4 separate regions of the Homo sapiens genome follow, and all the other regions are linked to region 3. The links are contacts of gene promoters, found by promoter capture Hi-C in blood cells and fetal thymus (Javierre and others, 2016). All regions are on one chromosome and are shown on one strand. Each heading gives the region's core, a stretch centred on a gene start or on the middle of the fragment in contact. The rest is flanking DNA. Distances are from core to core; before and after follow the strand shown.

Region 1 (2,873 bases), core at 205-2,704, 680 kb before region 3:
ACAGGGGTTGAAGATTCAACTGCACCCAAAGCAAGATCCAGTGTTTCCAAACTGTTAGGAGCTCTTGAAATGGATGTGGGTAACCAAGGCTATTGTGCCAAGGGTTCTGAGAATCAACTTCCACATCGAACATTTATCAAAAGGTAAATAGCACAGGACAGAGGACCAGAAAAAAGAAAGTCACGCAGAGAAAGAAATCAGGAGACCTTGCATTTGTAACTTGACTATACATTTGCAATATACTCCCTACTTTGAACAACTTAGAAAAAAACATTTCTTTCTTACAAACACAGTTTCCTCCTGAAAGGAATTTTGATGTATTCTATTTTCTGATGTCTTACTATTTTGGATGTGTATCCACGTTATAGGCAACGAGATGTTTTGTTTATAAATAAATGTAGAAGAAAAATAGATGTTTTTTAGAAGCAAATTCTGGTTCTTGTTATATCTTCTGAAACTTCCAAATCCAATTTTGTTATGCATTGCCACCATGATGCTATTACTTCAGTAGAACAGGATGTCCTCAAAGAGTGAAATGGTTACGATGAGTCTAGAATGACCTGGAGGTGCCAGATTATGGGCCTTAACTCCTAGCATTTCTCAAGTAGTTACTACATGTCCAAGACTTTGCTAAGGGATTTGCAAATTCTAACTTATTTTTAAATTCCATAACAGCTCTGAGATAAGTGCTGTAGTTAAACATAATTTTAAAGATGAGGATGCCAAGAATTCAAGAGATCAAATGAGTTACCTAAAGTTACACCTAAGAAGAGCAGGAAAGCTGAGACCAGAGCTGAGGCCATCTGGCTGGAGAGCCTGAGCTCTTAGCCATCATATTACACCGACTTTCTGTTCCAGATATGCCAGCTACTTCTATCTTTATATCAGTATCTCCTAGGCAGCAATTTTATACTCTGGCCTTTTGTCATTTTTACAGAAGCACTAATAATGATGCACAAAATTATTTTGTGTAAAAAAATTAAAATTTTTGTTTTTAATAGTTTTTGTAGAATCTATTAAAATATTAATATTCATAGTTCATAAGAAAATATTAATAGTTATTTCATAATAGCTTAAGTAACTATTGAACAAAAGTTAAAAATTTATTAGAAGTAAATATCAATGGTATAAATCAAATTATTTAATCTTTATGCACAAATATTACTTATCGCTAAAATGAAACTGGGTTCAGCATTATCTATTTTTCATTTTGATAGAATTAAGTACTGACAAAACTTGCTGACAAATAGAAATGGAAAGGTTCTTGGTTATAATAAAGCTACTCAACTCGTACTCCTCACAAAATATGTTAAAAAATAACATAGTGAACCACAACAAATATAATTTTTGCTAACAGCTTTGTTGAGCTATAATTAACATACCATAAATAATGCATAAAATTCATTGGTCTTTGTTCACAGAGTCATGCGACCATCGCAACTACATAATTCAAAGAAAAATTTTATCACCCAAAAAAGAAACTCTGTACCTATTAGCAGTCATTCTTCATTCTCCCTACCCGTGGAAATCACTAATCTACTTTCTGTCTCTATAGATTTGCCTATTCTGGACATTTTATATAAATCAAATCATGCAATAGATGGCCTTTTGCTTTTGGCTTCTTTTACTTAGCATAATGTTTTCAAAGTTCATCCATGGTGTAGCGTGTACCAATACTTCATTCATTTTTATGGAATGGATACACTACATTTGTTTATGCAATTTACGAACCGATGGACATACGGGTTGTTTCCACTTCTGTGCTATTATGCAAAGTGCTGCTATGAAAATTACCCATTTTTTTGTGTAAATATATGTTTTCTGTTCTCTTGAGTATATACCTAAGAGTGGAATTGCTGGCTTGTATGGTAACCTTATGCTTAACTTTTTGAAGAACTACGAAACTGTTTTCCAAAGTAGCTGCACAATTTTTTTTTTTTTTAGACGGAGTCCCGCTCTTTCGCCCAGGTTGGAGTGCAGTGGCGCGATCTCGGCTCACTGCAAGCTCTGCCTCCCGGGTTCACGCCATTCTCCTGCCTCAGCCTCCGGAGTAGCTGGGACTACAGGCGCCCGCCACAGCGCCCGGCTAATTTTTTGTATTTTTAGTAGAGACGGGGTTTCACCGTGTTAGCCAGGATGATCTCGATCTCCTGACCTCGTGATCTGCCCGCCTCGGCCTCCCAAAGTGCTGGAATTACAGGTGTGAGCCACCGCGCCCAGCCTAGTAGCTGCACAATTTTACATTTTTACCAGGAATATATGAGGGTTTCAATTTATCCACATCCTCAGCAACACTTCGTGGCCTGTCTTTTTATTATAGCCATTCTTGTGGGTGTAAAGTAGAATCTCAATGTGGCACTGATTTGCATTTCTTTAATGACTAATGATATTGGACATCTTTTCGTGTGCTTACTATCCATTTGCATATTTCCTTTACCAAAATGTCTATTGTGATAACATTTCCTACTTTAAAAATTGGTTATGTTTTTTATTACTGAGTTGTAAGTATTCTTTATGTATTATGGGTACAAATTCATTATCGGATGTATGATTTAAAAATATTTTCATCCCTTCAGTGTTTTGTCTTTTCACTTTTCTTGACAGTGTCTTTTAAAGCACAAAAGTTTTTAAATTTATCTATTACTATCTAATTTACCTATTTTTTATTTTGTCTCTAGTGCTTTTGCTGTCCTTAGAAACCATCCTCTCTAATCAAAGGTTACAAAGATCTGATCTTATGTTTCTTCTAAAAGTTTTGTAAATTTTATTAAACACAAGGTCTCTGATTTATTTTGTGCTAATTTGTGTATACAGTGTGAGAAATTGGTCCAATTTTATGATTTTGCTGTTAGATATCAGTTGTTGAAAAGACT
Region 2 (2,700 bases), core at 185-2,684, 580 kb before region 3:
CAATGCAAATGTCAGCTTGCAGAGTGGTTGGTGAGGGAGGGCATCGTTTTTCAGGGTGCCCTTTTCTTTCCAGGAAATCTTGTGAGATATTATAGACTTGCAATGCTACACACTGCAAATGTTAGAAAAGTTAGAGAAGAAATGCTGTGAAGACTGCACCGGATTGCTGACAAGATTAACACTGTCCCCATCACAGGCCCTGCTCTGATTCCCTAAAGCTTGTCTTTAACTCTGACCTCTCCTTAAGCAGAAGGCAGGTTTTTTAAAATGAATAAAGATTTCTAGCTATTCATACCAAGAGGAGTTGGGTAAGCCGCCATGGTTCTCCCTCCTGCTCATGACTTGGAAGTTGAAGTCGTGACAAATGACATACAACTGGAGGCCCTGCGGTTTGAAACCAGCTCTAGCACTTTTCTAAAAGGATTCAATTCTAAGAGAAAAATCCAATGAGTTTGAAGTGAATGGGTGAGTAAGGTCAGAAACAGTAAGTCTAAAAAGCAACAGGCTTTCCCCTGGTTTGGAAAGGACTCATTCCAAAAGAATTTGAGATGCAGGACCTTTAGCTCCAGGGCCAACTCCTTCAGGAGCTTTCCCTGACCCATGCTTGCTAAGTCAGGAGCCCTCCTGGGACACTCATAGCAGGGACTGGGCCTGTGTGTTCCTCCATCTAACCAACAACGCAGGGTCACAATGGCCTGTTTCCTTATCCATCTTCCCACAGGAACTTTGTATTGCCATGTGGCCCCCTAGCAACTTCTCAGGAAGTATTTGGAGAACACATGAACAAATGAATGAATGAGGTAGTGATACCATCCCAGCAGGCGGCCAACCAGTCTTTCCCATAGTTAAATGAATCAGGCACAATCATTTAACTAAATGTTAAATGAATCAGGCACAGTCATTTAACGAAATGTTAAATTTAAACGTTAAATGGTTGTGACTAATTTAATTAACCATGGTTAATCAGGGCAAGTTTGAAGCTTCAGTATATTCTGAGTTTATTAAAAACAGTCAATCAAGCCAGGTGTGGTGGTGCACACCTGTAATCCCAGTTACTTGGGAGGCTGAGGTAGGAGGATTGCTTGAGGTCAGAGTTTGAGACCACCCTGAGTAACACAGTGAGATCCTGCCTACAAAAAAATACAAAACCTGTCAATCACCTGGAGTTTAGGCAAGTGCCCCGATTCATTTCAGGCAAGTGCCCTGATTCATTTAACATATTTAGTGGAGAACCTGCTGTGTGCCAGACACAGGAAGAGTGCTGTGAAAAAGCACCCAGATCCTACTCCCATGGAATTAGATTCTATATAAGAGGAAATGCACAATAAGCCCAAAAACAACTCAAGATCTAAGTGTTTGCAAGAAAACACAACAGGGCTCTGAGAAAGAATGACGTGCAGGAGGGAGCTGCTTTAGCTCGAGTGGTCCAGGTAGACTTACCAGAGGAAGTGACTTCGGGACTGAGTTCTGAATATCCAGCAGGAGTCAAGATTTCTACAGGGGTTGAACATACCAGGCAGAGGAGATAAGTTGAATTCCTCTGTGGTGTTGTTTTGTAAAAGGAACAGGAAAGATATTTTTACCAAGAAAGAATATAAATAGATCCCAAGGATTCTGTGTTTGTTTTGCAATTTGTATTATGAAAGAAAATGCATTGCATGTCTTAAATATGCTCGTTGGATTCAGTATGTACAGGCAGCAAAACTCCAGGTGATTGACTGGTTTTGTATTCCTTGTGGAGACAAGGTCTTGTCTATGTTGCCCAGGCTAGTATCAAACTCCTGGCCTCAAGAAATCCTCCTGCCTCAGCCTCCCAAGTAGCTGGAATTACAGGTGTGCACCACCACATCCAACTTGATTGACTGTTTTTTATAAACTCAGAATATACTGAAGCTTAAAACATACTCCTTGAAAGAGCATTAGCAAACAAGACGATGAGGGGCGACAGTGCCTCCTGATTGCTAATCACTTACTCCATCTTCCCTATTACTCTGTAAGAATAAGATTGCTAATCACTTACTCCATCTTCCCTATTACTCTGTAAGAATAAGCAGTTCTGAAATGCCCATCTATATCTGTATTTGTGAATGACCTGCAGTGCTGCCGAAGTACTCACCCGAGAATCAGACCTTTATGAACCACTTTTACTGAATTTGCTATAAATGACCACAGACAGCACTGCATTTGAGAGCCAAAAGGTCTTTTTGAGGTCTGCCAGTCCATTTCCCACTCTACTTTCTCCACAGTGTCTGTGTGAGTGTGGTCAGTAATAATAGCAATGAGGGATAAAATAGGGCCCTGATCGTCTGGATGGAGGCTCCGTGGCTTTATTTCAAACAGAAAACAGGATGGCGAGCTTTCCATTATAGATCCATATTGAGCATGTCCTTGGAGAATTGATGGTAATTCACTAATGCCTAAATGCATTCTGAAATCCTCATATGCTGGTCTGTTGCTTGGATTAGTATCGATTCCCTTGTCTCTTACCTAAGACAGTGCACCCTAACTCAAGATGTGCAGCCTTCACCATGGAGGAAGGGAACTATGGGATTTACAGTCCTTTCACTCCAAGGTAAGAGAGGCAGCTTTCAGAAACACATTCTCTACTTCAGTGTCGGTGAAGGGGCTGTTTCCCATTACAGTATCAACCATAGTGCTTTAAATGGGAAAATACCCAAGGGTTTTAACACCTCTGCCAAA
Region 3 (2,855 bases), core at 82-2,581:
CGCACCTGTAGTCCCAGCTACTTGGGAGGCTGAGATTGGAGGATCGCTTGAGCCCGGGAGGTTGAGGCTGCAGTGTGCCACTGCACTCCAGCCTGAGTAACAGAGCGAGACCCTGTCTCAAAACAAAACAAACAAACAATAGTAATGGTCCACAAACATAGGGCTTGTAAAACATCAATATACAAGAAATAAAGTTTTTACACAATCCATAGCACTTATACTTCAGATTCTGATCAATTATAGTCATCAGAAACATACGTATTATGTTGCCAATAAATGATTTAAAAAAAAGCAAAATCTGATTGGTCGTATTTAAGTATACTCAACGGGTTTTTGAAATCTGAGCAAAGGCAAGAGAAATATTGAATCCCTCATGTCATGTCACTGGTCAGGAATGAGTGTCTCCAAAAACCGTTGCCATCCCGTACCCTTGATTTCCCAGAAAGCAGTGGTTGTCTTAAATGTGTGGTTTGTTAATTATTTTCATAAAAAACTTGCCAGTAGATGGACAGTAAATCGCATACGGAGCTCAGAAAAGGCCCCAAATGCGTAAAGACGACAAAAGAGTAAAGAAGGGCAAACAACAAGGATTTTCAACACTGGAGACTTAAAAGGTGTTACTTAAAAGGTGTTTCAAAGAAAGAATCTGGGCGCTTTGCTCTTTATAGTCACCTGCCTCCGAGGGAGGGAGCTCTCGGGCTTGAATGTGCCCAAGGTTCAACCTCTACGGTAGGAAATGCGCCCAAGTTTCAACCTCTACGGTGGGAAATGCGCCCAAGTTTCAACCTCTACGGTGGGAAATGCGCCCAAGTTTCAACCTCTACGGTGGGAAAAAGACGCCTGCGATAAAACAAAGCGCTCGGTGGTGGTGGCCCTCGCGTCGCACCTCACGCCGTGCAGCGACACGAGACGAACACAGGGTGCGCTCTGAAAGGCCGGGTCCCGCGTTCCGGTCGATCGGTGTTCCCCGGGACCCGCTCCTCAGGGCTGACCCAACTTCCTCCGGAAGGGGCGCTCTGCCTCTAGTCGCTCGCCGGCTCCCAGCCCCGACCCCAGACCCCTCGGACGCCCCCATAGGCCTAGCTGGCGCCCCAACCGCCCACCCTCCGCTACCCACCCGCGGCGGCCCCGACCCCAAGCCGGAGCCTACTAGTCCCAACGGCCGGCTGGGGGCGCGGGAGCGGCGGGCGCGGCGGGCTGGAGGGCGGGCACCGCGAAGGGAGGGCGCCCCACTTCCCCGCACCGCCCGCCAGGCCCGCCGAGCACTGACCGGCTCGGGACAGCCCAGGCCCCTGTCGGCGAGCGCTGGACTCCTCAGCTTCGCTCTGCCACACCGCGCAGCCGCCGTCCGCGTCTTTTGTTGTCGCGAGTTCTCCTGGCAACCGGCGAAGCCCGCCTCCCGCCGCGTCCTCTCCTGGATGCCGCGTCCTGGCCCCGCCCCCATCCTGGCCACGCCTCCAAGCCCGCCGCGCAGGAGTCCTGCGTCCCCAGGAAGTCCGCAAAGGGCCGGCCCCTGGGCTTGCCTGCAAATCCGAGTTGTGTCCCACCAACGCGCTGGGACCGGTCTGTGAGGCCTGAGCGCAAGCATCTTTCTACGGGTTCGTGAAATGAGTGAGAACGATTCCACACCGTGTTTCAATATCTTAGCTACCAATTCAGTTTATTTTTATTTTTATTGAGTAAAACTTGCCTAACATAAACCATCTTAAAACTCACAATTCAGTGGCGTTTAATGCATTCACAGTGTTGTGCAACCATCACCTCTGTATATAGTTCAGAAACATTTTCATAACCCCAAAAGAAAATCCCCAAACCAGTTAGCAGTCATTCCTTCTGGTTCCCCTCTCCCCACAACCCCAGCCAGCCACTAATCTACTTTCTGACTCTGTGATAGCTTTACCTATTCTGGGCATTTCTTTATTGATGGAATCATTCAGTATATGACCTTTTGTGTCTAGCTTCTTTTGCTTAATGTTTTCAAGATGCAGTCATGTTGTAACATCTATCAGGACTTCTTTTCTTTTTTTTCTTTTCTTTTTTTTGAGACCGAGTCGCGCTCTGTCGCCCAAGCTGGAGTGCAGTGGCGTGATCTCGGCTCTCTGCAACCTCCACCTCCCGGGTTCAAGCGATTCTCCTGCCTTAGCCTCCCGAGTAGCTGGGATTACAGGCGCGTGCCACCACGCCCGGCTAATTTTTTGTATTTTTAGTAGAGACGGGGTTTGTTTCACTGTGTTAGCCAGGATGGTCTTGATCTCCTGACCTCGTGATCTGCCCGCCTCGGCCTTCCAAAGTGCTGGGATTACAGGCGTGAGCCACCACGCCCGGCCCTTTAGATGGAGTTTCGCTCTTATTGCCCAGGCTGGAATGCAATGGCGCCATCTAGGCTCAACGCAACCTCCACCTCATGGGTTCAAGCGATTCTCCTGCCTCAGCCTCCGGAGTAGCTGGGATTACAGGCATGAGCCACCCTGCCCGGCCCTATCAGGACTTTTTAGGGCTGAAAAAATTCCATTGTATGGATATAGACATACCACATTTTGTTTATCCATTCTTCAGCTGGTGGTGGACATTTGGGCTGTTTCCATGCTGCTATGGACATTCACATACAATATTTGGATGTCTGTTTTCAGTTCCTTTTTTTTTTTTGAGATGGAGTCTCGCTCTGTTGCCCAGGCTGGAGTGCAGTGGCGCTATCTCAACTCACTGCAAGCTCCGCCTCATGGGTTCAAGCAATTCTCCTGCCTCAGCCTCTGGAGTAGCTGGGATTACAGGCATGTGCCACCACCACGCCTGGCTAAGTTTTCTGTATTTTTAGTAGAGACGGGGTTTCACCATGTTGGTCAGGCTGGGCTCGA
Region 4 (2,700 bases), core at 11-2,510, 620 kb before region 3:
CAGGCAATGGCACAGCATCCTGCTTGTTAAGGTGACGCTCCAGACCTAATCAATGACTCTCCTGAGAGCACATAACTCAAAGTGGAGCCCAGCTGTGCTCATGCCATGGCCCAGGCAAATCTGTCTGAGTGAGATGTCTAAGGAAGTGAGAATGTCCTTCTTTAATGCTGTATGTCACTACACAAAGGGATGTTATAGGGGATTTGGAAAAGCCAGCTTTTAAAGCCACCTGGAACCCACAGTGATCATCCACTCACCTGTGCACCTCAGGAGGCTCCCTCTGGATCTTGGAACTGGCCTCCACCACCTCTTTGGCAACTTTCCCACTGCAAAAGACAGAAACACATGTGTATGCACACATAGTCAGAGAAGAATGGGAGGGATATGCACAAGTGTCCTTTTGTTAACTTCACAGGTGTCTGACCCAGCTATAGAAATCATGAGGGGGAAAATTACGGTAGAATTTGAGGGTGCCCTGTGAGCATAAGACAGCAATGGAGTAGAAATGGAAGACTCAAACAGAGGCACAAGCCAAAGGCCACTTATTTGCAAGCAGAATTTTGAAATTTAAGTGGCTGCCCATCCCCACCCCCTCACTGAAATGGAACCATTGGTACCCACCTATATCGAAATCTACTTCCTTTAAAAAATATCTTGCTGCTTGATACAGTCTTGATCTGACTGGATTTTGCATACCTTTAAGAAAAAGCAAAGCACAGGTGGTTAGGACATTGGAAAGTCCACTTACAACATGCTATAGAGGTGTGGTGATGGGGTATTTTTACTGCAAGAAAGAAATGTAATTTACCTTGTGACTCAGCCTGCATTGTGCACACAAAATATAAGAAAAGCTTCACAAAAGAATAGTTACTTTCACTATGTGTATTGCATTCTAATATTTTCTACGCTATTTCCTTTCATTCTTTTTAAATTCATGACCCACATACTGGGTTTCATAATTCATTAGTGGGTCACAACCTGCAAAAAGGACTGGGCAGTGATGATCAGAAGGAATTCTCCCCTAATTTCTATCTGAAGATATGGAGAAGAGGGAATTTTGTGACATGGCATCAGGAAGTTCGTGGTTGTTAGGGCACTTTGCTGCCTATTCCTGTATCCACAGTGAGGCAGAAAACAGCTTCCTGGCAACAGAGGTCACTGACTATGCCACGAAGAACTCACTGTGCATTGCCCAAGTGAGGGAACAAGGGTCCCGCATCACCACAGGAATGGTCACTGGCTTCTGTGTCACCATGACCCAGTGCCCTTTAAAAGAACCCACAGTGGTAGATGACTAAGATACACGAGGCAGAAGCTGCCCAGACAAGAACTGATTCAGCACCTCTGAGCCCTACTCGTAAATAAGAGCAAAACAACAACACTCTGAAAAGCAGCCTAGAGCCTGGGCTGCCGGAAGGCTGCACACAGGGCACTAAATTACTGTGACAGCTGAGGATGGCTCTACAGCAGTCATGTTAAGCCTTGTACAATTAAATCCAACAAGTTAGAAAGAACAGGTCTCAGAGAGTTCAGCATCGTTTAAAATATTGATAGTCACAAAATCTTAAACACACACAGACAAAATCAATATGATCTGTAGCATCCTGAGCAAAGACATGCACGGAGCCAGGGAAGTTTCAGCGCAGTGATCCCCACCCTTGAGCCTCTTGAAGCTTCCTTTATTCACTCAGCAATCATTAACTGAGTGCCATCCCTGCTCTACACACCAAGGTAAGTACAAGAAAGACACATGGCTGATCTAGCCTGGGGGCCAGAGAAGATGCCCTGAGGAAGGGACATCTGAGTTGAGATCCAGAGGCTGAAAGGTGTTAACCAGGGCACGGTGCAAGTGGTGGTGGATATACCCAGCAGAGGGCCAGCAGGCGCAAAGCCATCAGCCTAAACATCTAGAGAACTCAAAACACTCAATTATTCTAAGTTAAGCAACTCAGGAATGGAAAACCAAAAATTCTATATTCTCACTTCTAAGTGGGAGCTAAGCTATGCATATGCAAAGGCATACAGAGTGATATAATGGACTTTATAGACTCAGAAGGGGAGGGTAGTAGGGGCCAGGGATAAAAACTACACATTAGGTGCAATATACACTAATTGACAGGTGCTCCAAAATCTCAGAATTTACCACAATATAATTCATCCATGTAATTGAAAACCATTTGTACCCCAAAAGGTATTGAAATTTTTTAAAAATATATAAAATACATTTTTAAAAGACTCAATGCACATTTTCCCATGTTATTATTACTACACACACACATATTTTTTTTCCTTTCCTAATAAAGATAAGTGAATGTACAGATGTACGAAGGAGAATAAGGCAAACTTGGACAGAGAGCCAGAATCCAATTTCCCAGGACCAGACCTTAAGTGGTCCTTGTTAAGGATCTTGGTCTTTATCGAGAGAACAATGGAAAGCCATAGGAACAATCTTTTGCAAAGAAGCCCCTTCCCACCACCTGTGTAAACAGCCAAAGATGACACAGAAGGGCACTGGACACAAATATTAAGCAGGGAGAGTAAGATGGGCAAGGGAGGGCACAGGGCTTGGCAGGGGGATCCTGTCAGGGCAGGGCCCAGAGAAAATGGTACAGGACCCCTGAGGACACACAGAGGCACGTGAGAGCCATGGCCCTGGGGGGGGCCCTGCAGTGTGCTGGCTGGAGCTTCCTTCCAGACCAC

What was found. The method cuts DNA at HindIII sites, captures the fragments that hold promoters and counts their contacts. A CHiCAGO score of 5 or more calls a contact.
Region 1: a contact is called between a fragment that was not itself captured here and the fragment with the promoter of KIF27 in region 3, in 1 of 17 cell types (monocytes). The highest score is 6.5, in monocytes.
Region 2: a fragment that was not itself captured here is called in contact with the fragment with the promoter of KIF27 in region 3 in 4 of 17 cell types (total CD8 T cells, total CD4 T cells, neutrophils and 1 more); the score reaches 6.8 in total CD8 T cells.
Region 4: a contact is called between a fragment that was not itself captured here and the fragment with the promoter of KIF27 in region 3, in 1 of 17 cell types (M0 macrophages). The highest score is 5.3, in M0 macrophages.

Annotation. Positions count from the first base shown.
Region 1 is chr9:83,235,679-83,238,551 of GRCh38, forward strand. The region is part of intron 2 of FRMD3-AS1 (FRMD3 antisense RNA 1); the gene reads left to right. Among named protein-coding and RNA genes, the nearest start is that of FRMD3-AS1, 18 kb to the left of the region's middle. The HindIII fragment of the contact is 4,774 bases long and covers 1-2,873 here.
Region 2 is chr9:83,339,041-83,341,740 of GRCh38, forward strand. All of the region lies in intron 5 of FRMD3 (FERM domain containing 3), which reads right to left. Among named protein-coding and RNA genes, the nearest start is that of FRMD3-AS1, 120 kb to the left of the region's middle. The HindIII fragment of the contact is 913 bases long and covers 979-1,891 here.
Region 3 is chr9:83,920,101-83,922,955 of GRCh38, forward strand. It overlaps KIF27 (kinesin family member 27), which reads right to left and starts at 1,332. Exons shown (of 18, transcript NM_017576.4): 1 at 1,271-1,332. LOC105376335 (serine/arginine repetitive matrix protein 1-like) reads left to right here and starts at 801. Exons shown (of 3, transcript XM_011519284.2): 1 at 801-1,161; 2 at 1,254-1,598. The coding sequence starts at 801. RefSeq lists enhancers at 864-1,613, 2,228-2,732 and silencers at 935-1,314, 1,345-1,494. The HindIII fragment of the contact is 5,103 bases long and covers 1-2,855 here.
Region 4 is chr9:83,298,491-83,301,190 of GRCh38, forward strand. FRMD3 (FERM domain containing 3) reads right to left here. Exons shown (of 14, transcript NM_174938.6): 11 at 622-696; 12 at 258-326. Among named protein-coding and RNA genes, the nearest start is that of FRMD3-AS1, 80 kb to the left of the region's middle. The HindIII fragment of the contact is 822 bases long and covers 850-1,671 here.